Linked DNA regions of Homo sapiens: regions 1, 3, 4 and 5 are each linked to region 2. Evidence: promoter capture Hi-C in 16 types of primary human blood cells and fetal thymus (Javierre and others, 2016). All regions are on one chromosome and are shown on one strand. Each heading gives the region's core, a stretch centred on a gene start or on the middle of the fragment in contact. The rest is flanking DNA. Distances are from core to core; before and after follow the strand shown.

Region 1 (2,700 bases), core at 137-2,636, 220 kb after region 2:
CGGAAGTTCCGGTCTCATGCTCCCTCAGCAGCACCTCCATGAACACTCCGCACACACCCGCGGACCCCACCCTAGGTAGCTGGTAAGGATGGAGAGGTCAGAGTCTCCCCCAGGGGTCAGGGCAAGGGCCAGGCAGTGGGCAGGAGTGACGTCAGTGGTGCCAGCGTGCTGCCAGCCCTGTGAGGAGGTGATGTCACTCGACACCATCTGCCTGGGCTCTGGGATGCCTGGGTTGTTACCTTGGCTCTCGGACAAGGAGGGCAGGTGGAAGGTGGGGTCTCCAACCCAGAGCCTCAGACCCCTGACTCCTCCCAGAGCTAGAAGAGCAGGGCAGGGTGGAGCTGGACCGGCTGCAACTGTGGAGCCCGATTTAGCCCTTTCCCCAGAAATAAAGTCAGCCTGGGAGGCAGTAGCCTGGAATACCCCAGGGACATGGTTGGCACTGGGCATGAGGCCAGCGAGCTGGGTATTGCCTAGCCCTCCCCTTCCCCAGCCGGACAGCGGCTGGGACGGCGGAATGGGAGCCAAGAGAAACACGCGACACCGCTGCGGGCCATACAAGGGCAGCGTGGACCCGAGAGCGCCCTGCTACCAGGCGGATCCGGAGAAACGCTCCGAGGTGCCCGGGCGCACTTCCCACCTGAATGTGGTCCCCAAAATAAGCCAGCGGGCGCTTCCAGTATGGGAATCCTCCATCCCTCATCTCTGTCCCCTATGATCCCATCACTCGGGGAGGCGCGAGGCGACCCACACCGCCCCGCAACCCCTGCCAACGCCCAGCTCGGGCGGGAGCCGCCGAACCTCCCGCTCTCGCTCACCTCCAGCCTGGCGTGATGCCCAGGCAGAAGGGGGAAGGGGTGGGTCGGCGCACCCCCTCCAGCGAAGGAAGCTGCCTTTTCCAGCAACAGGCGGGCGCGGAATTCAGGCTTTGAGGATGCGCCCCAGCTGCGCCTCCTGCCCGGCTTCAATTGCGGGCCCCCAGAGTGAGCACCTCAGGGACCACCCACCCCCCAGCACCCCGAAAGGCTGAGCTCCACCCCTTCTCGTTCCCAGAAGCAGCCTCCTCCCCGCCTTCCGAGTGCTGCTCCCGGGATACTCTAGAATCCCGGCTGCAAACTGGCTGCAAAGAAGAGTTGCTCGCGCGCAAGGCGCCCGGGGATCGGGGACCCAGGGAGGAGGCTCGTCCTCCCAGACGCAACGCCCCGACCCCGCCGCGCCGCTGGCTCTGCTCCCTGGCACGCTCCACCGCAGACCCCTAGCCGGGGCGCGGCCCCCCTGCGAGCGAACTCACCCGCGACGCGAGGACAGCAGCAGCAGGCGGCGAGCAAGAAGGCGCAGACCAGCCTGGGAAGCCCCATGCTTCCCGGCCGGAGGGCGAGAGCCAAGTGAGCAGCTCGAGGCTGCCGGGGGCTGACGTCAGGGGGGCGGGGGAGGGGGCCCGGAGCGCCCGGGCCCGCCCCGCCCCGCGCAGCCCCCAGCCCCCGCCCCGCGCGCCGCAGCCCTAGGGGGCGGGCCCCGGCGCCGCCAGCCCGGGAGCTGCGCCTAGGAGCGCTGCCGGAGGTAGGCCAGAGCCGGACTCCCAGGCTCCTGGCTTGGGAAGGCTGAGGGGGTAGTGACAGGTGTCTCGGGGTCTGACTGGCCGAGGTGGCAGCGAGGAGAAGCTGTCCCGGATGCCCGGAGTCGCCCCGGGTCGAAGCCAGCCAGGCTCACCGCTGCTCAGCCCCTGCCAGCCAATGTAGCCCCTAGGGGACCTCCTGGGGGAGGAGCAGTAGCGGACCTGGTCCTCGGTGTCCCCAAGGGGCCTCCCACTTGGGCTCCCCTCCCTTGCCACAGAGAATTCAGGCCGGCCTCTATCGCTTCCCAGAACGATTGCACCACTGCCGCTGCCGCCGGCCTGACACTGCCTCAGCCTCAGTGCTGGCAGCTTTGGGAGAAGAACCCTGCGCCAGTCCCACAGACCCAGAAGTACCTGTATGGGGAGTGCAGACGATGCCTTCTGGGCTGTCCCTTCAAACGCAAGCTCCTGCAAGTCTAGCCTTTGACCAGAGAAAGGAAGGAGGGGGCTGAATTCGCAGGCCCAAGGTGTTCACACTTGTCCAGACCTGGGCCTTGAGAATCATGTTTCTTCCCTCTTCACTCTGGAGCCTACCCTGGAACTCAGTTTCCCCTCACCTAAGAGAAAGAAACAGGGAGAAGAAAGAGTTAATGGGCGAGGGTCCCCAGCCTGACCCTGCAAACCTGTTGCTGTTCCTGATGATTGAAAGGATCCCGGCAGCGCTGATCTTCCCCCACCCCATGTCTTCCCCAGCCCTATTGATTGTGGGTCCATAGCTGAGGGAAGAATCAAATCAGACCTGCTTGGGTGGGGAGCTCTGCAGCTCCCCTTCTCCCAAAACGCCGGCTTCTCCCTGGGTCTTCTGGCCTCTTGAACTAAGGCTCTAGGGAGGGGGAGGTGCTCTTGCCTCACTCTGACCCCAGCAGCCTGGCCTCAGAAAAGGGGTCCACATCTGCTGGCGCGCCTCCACCAGGGAGTGCCAAATAGGGGCCTGGATTTGGGTAGAGGTCTGTTGCCCAGCGGGGCCACCCCTTTGCTCGCTGGGGGAGGTGGAGGGTGAGCCAGCAAACCCTGGAGATGGCCAGGTGACTTGAGAGCATGCTCCGGGGTGGCGTTTTGATGACGCAGAGATGACTGGAAAACCA
Region 2 (2,700 bases), core at 1-2,500:
AGGGGCAGCAGTGGTAGGACTACCTACCCAAGTCCAGATGCAGGCCAAGTATCGGGCGGAAGGGCTTGGGCACCACAATGGTCGTGTTGCCAAAGTTGGTGAAATAGACCATGAGGAGAGGTAGTGAGGCAGCTGTAGGTAGCAGCAGCTTATGGCGCCAGCGCAGATTCAGTACATCATCCGCAAAGCCCAGGAAGATCATGCAGCAGATGGCAAGGAGGGCACCTATCAGGGCCACAAACTGGGGGAGGCTCGGGCAGGTCCATGACTCAAGCCTGCTCCCATTCCACCTTTTAAGAATTCCTGTCTTTTCTGATAATTTCTTAGCCCCTCCCCACAAGCCCAAATAACCCCAGTTCTCTCAGGTACCTCCCAGGTCCCAGCCACAGGCAATCACCCCCACGAACCCACTTACTTCATGGTGGGGGAATGCCTTACACTGCTCCTTCACAAAGCAGTTCAGGAAGGGGAAAGGGATGAAGCAGAAGAGGATGATAAGGAAAACAGCACCGCTGATCACTCCCTGGGATTCTGGGCTGTGGCCCAGCAGCAAGGGGGCGAGGGGGAAGAGGAAAGGGGGCGTGGTCACTCACTAGTGCAGGTGTTACAGTAACCCAAAGTGGTCTTCTCATTCCCGGTTTTTTATTCTGGTAAGTGGTGAGGGGGGCGGAGGGAGGAAAGCACCACTGCCAGAGTCCCAGATATACCCAAGGGTCCCTACCCATCCTTTCCCCAATGCGAGTAAGTTCTGCTCATCACCTCTCCGAGTTCCAGGCTGCCTGGGTTAGTTCTGAGTCTTCACGTGTGGTCAAGCACCCCGGTTCCCGCCCCTGCCCTAGCCACTCCTTCCTTAGCCCTTGCCCCCTGCCCGGACCCGTGTGCCGCTGCTCACATCTGCTGTCGGCTGGTTTTGTTGAGGTCCTGACCACAGAGGCGCGCAGCAATGAAGTGGCCCCGGAAGGCCGGGATGAGGGTGACTGTGGCCACAAATCCCAGCAGCGAGACGATCAAATTGATCAGCAGCGGCATGGGCAATTCCGAGAAGGCCCACATGGTGACCGGTCAGGGGCCCGGCTCCGCCGCCTCTTCAGGTAACGGGCAAGCTGAGCAGCAGTCCTGAGGCCTCAGCAGTATGGAGTGGCCGCTCCCCACAGGCAGGCTCTTCCCACACCAATCTGAGCAAAACCCAGCAACTCTGACTTGAGCCGCCGTCGGGACACCGGGGAACCTCTCTAAGGCAACCTATGTTCTGCCCCGCTGCACCCGCCTATCTACTGTTTCCGCCCGGATCTTGTTCGCTGAACAACCATTACTGCGGAAGGCGGCGGCCGCCATTTTTAATATGGGCATTAGAGGGTGGGGATGGAAGTGGAAGAGAAGTGTGATTCCAAATTTCATCCTATGTTCAAGAGTAGAATCACCGAGAGAGTACTGGAAACGCAATTAAAGAAAGGCAGCCAAGAACGGATACTTCCCTAACATTATGTTAAAGATGTACTACCCAGAGCGGAAATGCCAATTGCCCGGTTCCAAGATGAATGCCTCCTTGTACCACGTGTCTGACACCGCTCACATTCCGGTTCCACGTCAGTTTTAGCTCCGTCCGCCTCCATAGGTCAAGCTTAAAGGGCCCGTACCTCTCCCTTAATCTGGGATGCCTCCGGCTCCAGGAAGATGGCTATTGAAAGGCAGGGGGTGGGGAGGAGGGACGAGGGTGTGGAGACGCGCCTGTTTCTTGCAGGAAACCTGTTGCCAACATAGTCGGAAGCCAAGGTAAACACAACTCAGTTCCCGGAAACAAAGCTACGATTTGGAAGGATGGTGTAAATTCTAAAGCGTAGATCCTTGAAAAGCCCCTCCCACTCTGTTTTTCTTGTCCTCGATTCTGGTATTTTTTTCTCAGCATCCCACCCACCTTCTGCCCCAGCTGTAGCAGTTAGTTGCCCGGCAACCCAGCGCAGCACTTCACTGAGGGATTGGGAGTACCCTCAGGTCTTGGATTTAACTCGAGACTTCAGCTTGGCCGTGGATCACTGCATTGTACCTAGCTCCCACAAGGAGGAGATGGAGATTTCCAGGCTGAGGCTCTGGAAAGAGCTGAGGAGGGAGAGGAATCAGACCCACAACTGATTTCCTGTGAGTCTGAGGAACTCCCAGTCAGGTTTCTTCCTGTAGGTCACTGTGCATTTTGCTTGGCCTCCTGCAGGTTGCTGTGCATTTTGCTTGGCCTGTTCCCCTGCAAACAACAATTCACCAGCTTTTTTTTTTTTTTTTTTTTTTTTTTTTTGAGACAGAGTTTCGCTCTTGTTGCCCAGGCTGGAGTGCAATGGCGCGATCTCGGCTCACCGAAACCTCCACCTCCCAGGTTCAAGAGATTCTCCTGCCTCAGCCTCCCGAGTAGCTGGGATTACAGGCAGTAGCTGGAATTACAGGCATGCGCCACCACGCCCGGCTAATTTTGTATTTTTAGTAGAGACGGGATTTCCCTATGTTGGTCAGGCTGGTTTGGGACTCCCGACCTCAGGTGATCTGCCCGCCTTGGCCTCCCAAAATGCTGGGAGTACAGGCGTGAGCCACCACGCCCAGCCAGTTCACCAGCATCTTTATTACCTTTCATTCCCCGACAGGCTCTTAGGCGGCAAATGATTTCCATTTGTCAGAGAGGAAGTCACCACCAGTGAGTTAGGGAAAGGACTCCAA
Region 3 (2,700 bases), core at 79-2,578, 200 kb after region 2:
GTCTTGGTCAGCAGAAATAATAGTTCCCTAGGTGACATGTATTTTGCTCTGTTCAATTTGAGTTATGTCTGTTTTTAAGCCATTTATTTTATACTTCAAAGTTTACTGGTTTGTTACTTCTTTTTCTATTTTTTATTCTTCATCTTCCAGACCTCTTCCTGTGCCAAAACTGCCACCTGGGGAGCAATGTGAGGGTGAAGAGGACACAGAGTACATGACTCCCTCTTCCAGGCCTCTACGGCCTTTGGATACATCCCAGAGTTCACGGTAGGTTCACAACAACCCTTTTTGGGCCCTATACCTTTATGTGGGTAATTGACACCCTTCACCTGCTTGGCTTGCTACCTGCACATACTGTTATCCAGTCAGATTAAAGCAGAAAGATAAAGATAAATCTAGCCCTTAATGGTTTAAGCCTTTTGTAGCTGTAGGTAATTACACTTATGTTTTCTCAGCAACATGAGAACCTCAAAAACACATACACCTATAACTTGCCACAAGAGTCAACTTTAACATTTATTAGTGATATTGGCAAAACGAGAAGATGAATCTTCATAAGTTTATAGATAACAGTTCTATTTCCAAAGATCATTATGGCACTTTCCTTCTGGTTCAGAGCATGTGATTGCGACCAGCAGATTGATAGCTGTACGTATGAAGCAATGTATAATATTCAGTCCCAGGCGCCATCTATCACCGAGAGCAGCACCTTTGGTAAGTTGCCATTCTGCTACTTTAAAAATCATTGATATGTCATAGGAATGAACATGTAATATTTGGCAATTGAGATAGCTTGATCTAAGCTCAAAATTCTTCTGTAGCTGGGACTACAGGTACGTGCCACCATGCCCGGCTAATTTTTGTATTTTTAGTAGAGACGGGGTTTCACTATGTTGGCCAGGCTGGCCTTGAACTCCTGACCTCAGGTGATCCACCCCTCCCAAAGTGCTGAGATTACAGGCGTGAGCCACCACGCCCAGACAAAGCTGAAAATTATTTTCAGTAATCTTTGGCAAAATATCTTTGACATGGGCAGTAAAGTATCCCCAATCCTTTATTTCCTACTCACACTGCTGGTTCCTTTTGTGCTTTTCTTTGTCCTTCCAGGGCCTAGAGACATTTGTGTTCTATACTCTGGACCTGTAAGCTCCTTTTTTTTCTCATTGCATTGATGAAATTCTTTTATGTGGGGGTGGTGAACACTCAATTCCCATGTTAACTAGCCTACCAGATTGAAAGTTCAAGAAGCCTGCTCTCACAGGATCCTTTGCTGATCTTCCAAGGTGGAATGTGGATAGAAATGTTTATTGAATGATCTGAGATGACACTGGAGTCATTGGCATCGGTGGCTATTAACCTTGTCAAGAATAACCTTTGGCATGTTCAAAAATGAAAGCTGCAGTGTTGGTGCAGATTTTATTTTCTATTTTTATCTCTGTTTACATGGTGTTTGGCCCACAGTAGACAATCAGTAACTGTTGAATGAGATAAATGATTGCATACATGTAAAAATGAATGGCTGCCCCGTATTGAAATGTATTAGAAGATGAAGTGCGTCAGAAGAAGATAACATCACTCATTTTTCTCCAGGTGAAGGGAATTTGGCCGCAGCCCATGCCAACACTGGTCCCGAGGAGTCAGAAAATGAGGATGATGGGTATGATGTCCCAAAGCCACCTGTGCCGGCCGTGCTGGCCCGCCGAACTCTCTCAGATATCTCTAATGCCAGCTCCTCCTTTGGCTGGTTGTCTCTGGATGGTGATCCTACAACAAGTGAGTCTCCAGACTACTTTGGGTTTGTCCTGAATGGCAGTGTGGCCTGTATGTTTATATTGAAAGGGAGATGACCTTCTCTGGTGACAGTAAGTCAGTATGTAGGCTAAACATTATGTCTAAATGGGAGGAAAGTCCCAAGTTAGGAAGTTAGACTGTAGTCAGACTCTTTAGGATTTTTGCAGACTTAGAAAAGAGGTCATTCCTTAAACTCTGGCTCTTCTTATGTTAGGGGTAGGTAGGATTTATAGTTTCTCTGAGTATGCCTTATGACACTGGTAATTAGGCTTGATGGCTCAGAGCACACATTCCTTTTTCCTGGGCTCTGTTCCATTGGAAAGAAGGCATGCTAGCTCTGGAACACACACTGAATGGGCCTGGAGCCAGCCCATGTTGGGCCTTGACTACTGGAGGCTGCTCTTCTTGCACCTGTGGCTGCCTGGTAGGGCAGCAGCCAGAGTTGCTGTCACTTTGGAATTGAAGACAGCCTTCAGGACAGACAGCTGGTGAAAAAGAATACAGCCTTCGCTTGCCCAGACGAGCAATGTCCCCCACTCAGCCTTGGCTAATGCTTCTTCATTGCAACTTATATCTGTCTTTTTCCTTATTTGTAGAAGGCGAAGTTTAGTATCTTTGGTCCCCTCAGAATTAAAACAGACAATTACATGTGCACAAACATGTTGCTTAGTGTAAAGCATGATGCAGATGTTTATGATTGCAGTGGTTATTGTTCATAGGACAGGTGCATGGTATATTTAGAAGGTTGTTTTTATTGTGATGAGGAGGCTATATCTTAAAACCCTTGAACCTGTAAAACCCAGCCTTGTGACTGAAGAGCACATGTACCCAGTTTACAGGAAGTCAGTAATATCTTGATATTAGCACATTTTTATTGCTGTTGTTAAATGAGGATTTCCCCAGATTTGC
Region 4 (2,700 bases), core at 64-2,563, 180 kb after region 2:
CCTTTCTGCCGATGTGAAATTAAAGGTACTGAACCCATCGTGGTAGATCCGTTTGATCCTAGAGGGAGTGGCAGCCTGTTGAGGCAAGGAGCAGAGGGAGCTCCCTCCCCAAATTATGATGATGATGATGATGAACGAGCTGATGATACTCTCTTCATGATGAAGGAATTGGCTGGTGCCAAGGTAAGATGGCAGTTTAGGAGACTGGCAAAATCCATTGTGAGTTGTCTTCTAAAGCCGTAAAACACTTAACGATATCCAAACTACAATGATAGGTAGTATTAATAGCTAATATTTATTGAGCATTTACTATATGACAGATATTGTGTTAAGCACTTTACTTGTTTTTTACTCAATCTTTACTACAGCCCTATGAGTACATACTACTATTATCCTTATTTAACAGATGAAGAAACTGAGGCACAAAGAGGTTAAGGAATTTGCCGAAGACCACACAGCTAGTAGGTTGAAGCATCTGTGAGCTGCATCTATGACCAGGCATTCCAGCTTAAGGCCCATGTTCTTACTGTCTGTATTTTTTAGGACTAAGACTTTATTCATATCTGTTGGTGGAGAATATGAGGGAGAAATAAAAGAACTGGACCCTCTTTTGCTAATGCAACTAGAATAAGTTCTGTTCCCTTTTTTTTTTTTTATTTTAATGGAGTCTTGGCATTAGAAGGTTGGGGCTGGGCATGCCCATAGCTCATGCCTATAATCCCAGTACTTTGGGACGTTGAGGCTGGAGGATCAGTTGAGCCCAGTTTGAGGCCAGCCTTGGCAATATAGTGAGACCCTATCTCTACCCCTGACTCCAAAACAAAACAAAAAAAAGCTGGGTATGGTGTTGTGCACCTGTAGTTCTAACTACTCTGGAGGCCAAGGCTGGAGGATCAGTTGAGCCCAGCAATTCGACATAGCAAGACCGTATCTTTACCACCACTGCCCCCATGCCCCCCCCTAAAAAAAAAAATAGCTGGGCATGATGGTGTACGCCTGTAGTTCTAACTAGTCTGGAGACTGAGACGGGAGGATTGCTTGATCCCAGGAATTCAAGGCGGGAGTGAGTTGTGATTGTACCACTGCACTCTAGGTTGGGTGACAGAGCGAGACCCTGTCTCATAAATAAATAGTAATTGTATACAATGTGTAGTGTGACTTATTTCTGTAAAAAAATTTTTTTAAGCATATACGTAGAAAAACTGGATGACTACATACCAAACTAATCACTGTTATTTCTGAGGATAGGAATTCAGAGCACTTAAATTCTGTGGAATATTTGAATTTTTTACAATTAATGCATATTACTTTTTCAAAGTGTTTGTTGTGCTAGATGGTTGAGTGCTATATGGGATAAGAAGTCTAAGACAAGGCTTTCAAGGAGCTAATTGTTTTATTTAGGAAAAGGACATATGTGCAGGTGAAACACTTCAACACAAGGCAGACAGTGAACATTGTTCCAAATTGTTGGGTACACTATAAGTCGGATAGGAGTTTAGAGGAAAGAAGTAAAGGAACACACTTTCCCTAGCCATGTAGAAATGTAAACAGAAAAAAAACCAGCCTCATGTATTTTGTCATTTGGCCATTCCATAATTTATTTTGTCTTCCTTTTAATGAACATTCATATTGTTTGCAGGCTTACGTATATTGGCCTGCTTTTACAAGTCTGTCTAGGCTAGCAGTGGGATTGCTGCATAAGGGAGTGTGTATTTCAACTGTGATAGAGGGGAGGTTATAATTAACAGAGGGGCTTATGGGAATATCACAGTGATAATGGTATTTTGTTTTTTAGCTGGATGGTAGGTAAGTATATGGATGTTTTATTCCTTGTACTTTATAGTTCATTATATATTTTGTATGAGTAAAATAATTTGAGTGAAAATATTTAACTTTTGGTTAGTTATTAAAGTTTATCCCCCTTTTTTGGTCTTGAAATCACTCTTGAAGGTATGGAAAAGAATGAGAATGCCTGTTTCTTCACATCCTGGTAGATGTTGTTTGTTGTTTTATTTTGATTTTTTTTAATATACTGAATCTACTTATAGTTGGTGAATGCACATGGATTTTTTTTAAGGTTTAAAAGAATTGCTAAAAAAAACTTACAAAAACATTGGTTCCCTGCCTCTGCCCCCTCCAGCACCTCTCTGTCCCCTCGTTCAGAGTTTTAATTCTTGAAACTGTTTACTACCTCTGTGTTTCTTAACCATGTGCTTATACTGCTTTTTCTGGATTCTTGATCTCTTCACCTCAGATGTTGTGGGAGAGGGTTTAGGTCTCTTATATCTCCCTCCTCCCTACTCCATATCCTCCCACTACAGTTATTTGAATTTGGCTTAGTACTAGTGTTTACATGATTTCACTCCTTACTGTGCCAAGTAACATACTATACAATAATTACTTTTGCTTTCTTATACAACTTTCTGCTTTTCCTGGTATAATTATTTTTATTTTCTTAGTTTTCAGTTTGTACCTGTCACTACCAAATCATATCATACTCTCAAACATCCTCTCAATATAGTTTCTATGAAATAAAATCTGTTAGTATAGTAGTATGTGATACCGTGTACTGCTTTGTAGGAAATAGGAGTCATCTGTGTTCCGCTCCAGTCTGCTCCAGTTACTCCTGTGCCACACTACTTGTCACCCTGAGGTGTCCCCTCGCCATCCTCATGGGACTTCATTGCCTCTCCTCTGTTG
Region 5 (2,700 bases), core at 29-2,528, 230 kb after region 2:
GAGAGAAAGGGTAGGAAGAAGCCAGAGGAGTTTCAGCGACTGCAGTCCTTCCTCTGCACTATAGCGTACCCCTACCACGATCCCAAGGCCTCAGTAAAGGTTTGCTGCACACCTCAGCTTCTTATCAGTGATGCTTTGGAGAATGAAGGACTCTGAGGCAGTGTTCAGGGCAGACTGAAGGAGGACGGACACTTTCAGGAGCCCAGGAGTGGAGATGGAGAATTCAACTCAAGTAGGAAATTCAGCAAAGGTGACCAGGGGAAAGATAAGTCCACTAGGAGTCTGCTAAGCATCCTTGGAGTTAGTAGAAAACGCCAGGATTCCCAATATATTTGGGATGGGGTTTCAAATATATTTTGACTATTGTTTGAGTATTAAAGAAAAGGGCAGGGCCGGGCTTGGTGGCTCACGCCTGTAATCTCAGCACTTTGGGAGGCCGAGGCGGGTGGATCACGAGGTTCAGGAGTTCGAGGCCAGCCTGGCCAACATGGTGAAACCTCGTCTCTACTAAAAATACAAAAATTAGCCGGGTGAGGTGGTGGGCACCTGTACTACCCGGGAGGCTGAGGCAGGAGAATCGCTTGAACCCGGGAGGCAGAGGTTGCAGTGAGCCGAGATCGCGCCACTGCACTCTAGGGTAGGAAGGCCCAGGGTAGGAAGCTGAGCGGTTTCTAAATCTGTAGCCCCTTTTTCTCAATGACAATGAAGTAATCTTCCGAGATGTTGAAAAACCTGGTGAGGAAAGTTTGGAATAGCAGTTTGGGAATCCCCTGTAATAATCTGCTTTCCCTTGTGAACAGCAGGCACTGTCTTAAAATTTTTTTGTATCCTCAATGCACTGTAGGAGTTCAATAAATGATAGAATAGATGAATAAATAGAAGAGAATGAGGAGACGGATCTGGGCAGGCTGCGAAGGCGGTGCTATTCCAAAGCCCAGCCCAGAGGCAGTGACCTCCGACCCAAGCCAAAAAAAAAACCTCGCGTTCAGAGGCCGGGAGAAAGAACAGCTCCCAAATTGAGGGGAGTCCAAGACCCTGCTCTTTTAGAGGGTGGGGCTAGGAGAGCGTATTTCGACGCTGCCCGCCAACGAACCAATCCCCGCCTAAAGGGGGAGGGGATTTAATCTGTCGCCTCTCCTTCCCTTTGGAAAGTAAATACGTTCGGGCGCCATTCAAACGGACCAATGAGTGATCGACGTTTTTGTGGTTGGCCTTCACCGATTGGCTGGAGTTTGTCGTCCCTCCCTCCTCGTCACGCCTCTGGCTCCACCCCTTTGCACACAAGATGGCGGCGCCCAGCGGAGTAGGGGCTGCGCTTGGGGTTTGCTGAAGCTGGCTGCCTCTCCCACTCCCCTTTTGGGTGCAAAGCGCCGCTAGCGGGAAGACGGGGGCCGGGCGGGGACAGGGGCACCTGCGTAGCTGGACTGAGAGCCTGCGCCCAGCTTACATCGACCCCACCCGGCCCCGGCCCGACCCGACGCGACCCGATCCGATCCGATCCCATTCCATCCGTTCCTCGTCTCCTCCCGGTCTGACCCGTTGCCCGGCCGTGGTTCGCCACACCAGGCATCCAAAGCTGAGGTCGCTCCTACGGCCTGGGCTCGCCTTCGCTTTAGAGATGTTTGGCCTCTTCCCTCCCAAACAGCCCATCTTCAAAACCTGGACTCTTGGACTGGCACCTGGCCACCTTTCCCTCTACCAAGACTCCACTTCCGTCTTACCCACTTCTTCCTCAGATTCTTGGTACCCCCTGGGTTGGAGACTGCTCATTTTCCTTCCAAATTAATCCCAGACCCCCTAAAATATTGACAACCTTGACAACCCCCCAACCGAGGAGCCAGACTTTGTTTTGGACTAACTTCCATAGCCCTATCATGGAGGCAGTGTACCTGGTAGTGAATGGGTTGGGCCTGGTGCTGGACGTGCTGACCTTGGTGTTGGACCTCAACTTCCTGCTGGTGTCCTCCCTCCTGGCTTCCCTGGCCTGGCTCCTGGCCTTCGTCTACAACCTGCCGCACACGGTACTGACTAGTCTTCTGCACTTGGGCCGCGGAGTCTTGCTTTCATTGCTGGCCTTGATCGAAGCCGTGGTCCGGTTCACATGTGGGGGCTTGCAGGCCTTGTGTACTCTGCTGTATAGCTGCTGCTCTGGCCTAGAGAGCCTAAAGCTCCTGGGGCACCTGGCCTCTCATGGGGCACTGCGGAGCAGGGAGATACTGCACCGGGGCGTCCTCAATGTGGTCTCCAGTGGCCATGCTTTGCTGCGCCAGGCCTGTGACATCTGTGCCATTGCCATGAGCCTGGTGGCTTATGTGATCAACAGCCTGGTCAACATCTGCCTCATCGGCACTCAGAACCTCTTTTCCCTGGTGCTGGCCCTGTGGGATGCAGTGACCGGGCCTCTGTGGAGGATGACGGACGTAGTGGCTGCCTTCCTAGCCCACATTTCCAGCAGTGCTGTGGCCATGGCCATCCTCCTTTGGACACCCTGCCAACTAGCCCTGGAGCTGCTGGCCTCAGCTGCCCGCCTCCTGGCCAGCTTTGTGCTTGTCAATCTCACTGGCTTGGTGTTGCTAGCTTGTGTGCTGGCAGTGACGGTGACTGTGTTGCATCCGGACTTCACCCTGAGGCTGGCTACCCAGGCACTCAGCCAGCTCCATGCCCGGCCATCCTACCACCGTCTTCGAGAGGATGTCATGC

Evidence for each region. The method cuts DNA at HindIII sites, captures the fragments that hold promoters and counts their contacts. A CHiCAGO score of 5 or more calls a contact.
Region 1: the fragment with the promoter of MCAM here is called in contact with the fragment with the promoter of DPAGT1 in region 2 in 15 of 17 cell types (endothelial precursors, megakaryocytes, fetal thymus and 12 more); the score reaches 18.4 in endothelial precursors.
Region 3: a contact is called between a fragment that was not itself captured here and the fragment with the promoter of DPAGT1 in region 2, in 2 of 17 cell types (endothelial precursors and megakaryocytes). The highest score is 6.6, in endothelial precursors.
Region 4: a fragment that was not itself captured here is called in contact with the fragment with the promoter of DPAGT1 in region 2 in 1 of 17 cell types (megakaryocytes); the score reaches 5.0 in megakaryocytes.
Region 5: a contact is called between the fragment with the promoter of RNF26 here and the fragment with the promoter of DPAGT1 in region 2, in 13 of 17 cell types (megakaryocytes, endothelial precursors, naive CD4 T cells and 10 more). The highest score is 13.7, in megakaryocytes.

Annotation. Positions count from the first base shown.
Region 1 is chr11:119,315,744-119,318,443 of GRCh38, forward strand. MCAM (melanoma cell adhesion molecule) reads right to left here and starts at 1,387. Exons shown (of 16, transcript NM_006500.3): 1 at 1,292-1,387. The coding sequence starts at 1,358. RefSeq lists an enhancer at 1-73 and a silencer at 1,666-1,725. The HindIII fragment of the contact is 17,882 bases long and covers 1-2,700 here.
Region 2 is chr11:119,100,603-119,103,302 of GRCh38, forward strand. It overlaps DPAGT1 (dolichyl-phosphate N-acetylglucosaminephosphotransferase 1), which reads right to left and starts at 1,251. Exons shown (of 9, transcript NM_001382.4): 1 at 893-1,251; 2 at 416-536; 3 at 28-241. The coding sequence starts at 1,053. It also overlaps a transcript of C2CD2L not described here. RefSeq lists enhancers at 379-1,092, 904-2,103, 1,286-1,595, 1,807-2,519. The HindIII fragment of the contact is 9,998 bases long and covers 1-1,619 here.
Region 3 is chr11:119,296,768-119,299,467 of GRCh38, forward strand. CBL (Cbl proto-oncogene) reads left to right here. Exons shown (of 16, transcript NM_005188.4): 13 at 151-267; 14 at 617-714; 15 at 1,591-1,773. Among named protein-coding and RNA genes, the nearest start is that of MIR6756, 15 kb to the right of the region's middle. The HindIII fragment of the contact is 3,184 bases long and covers 1-2,700 here.
Region 4 is chr11:119,278,531-119,281,230 of GRCh38, forward strand. It overlaps CBL (Cbl proto-oncogene), which reads left to right. Exons shown (of 16, transcript NM_005188.4): 9 at 1-183. Among named protein-coding and RNA genes, the nearest start is that of MIR6756, 33 kb to the right of the region's middle. The HindIII fragment of the contact is 3,919 bases long and covers 1-2,700 here.
Region 5 is chr11:119,333,249-119,335,948 of GRCh38, forward strand. It overlaps RNF26 (ring finger protein 26), which reads left to right and starts at 1,279. Exons shown (of 1, transcript NM_032015.5): 1 at 1,279-2,700. The coding sequence starts at 1,875. RefSeq lists an enhancer at 921-1,812. The HindIII fragment of the contact is 9,565 bases long and covers 1-2,700 here.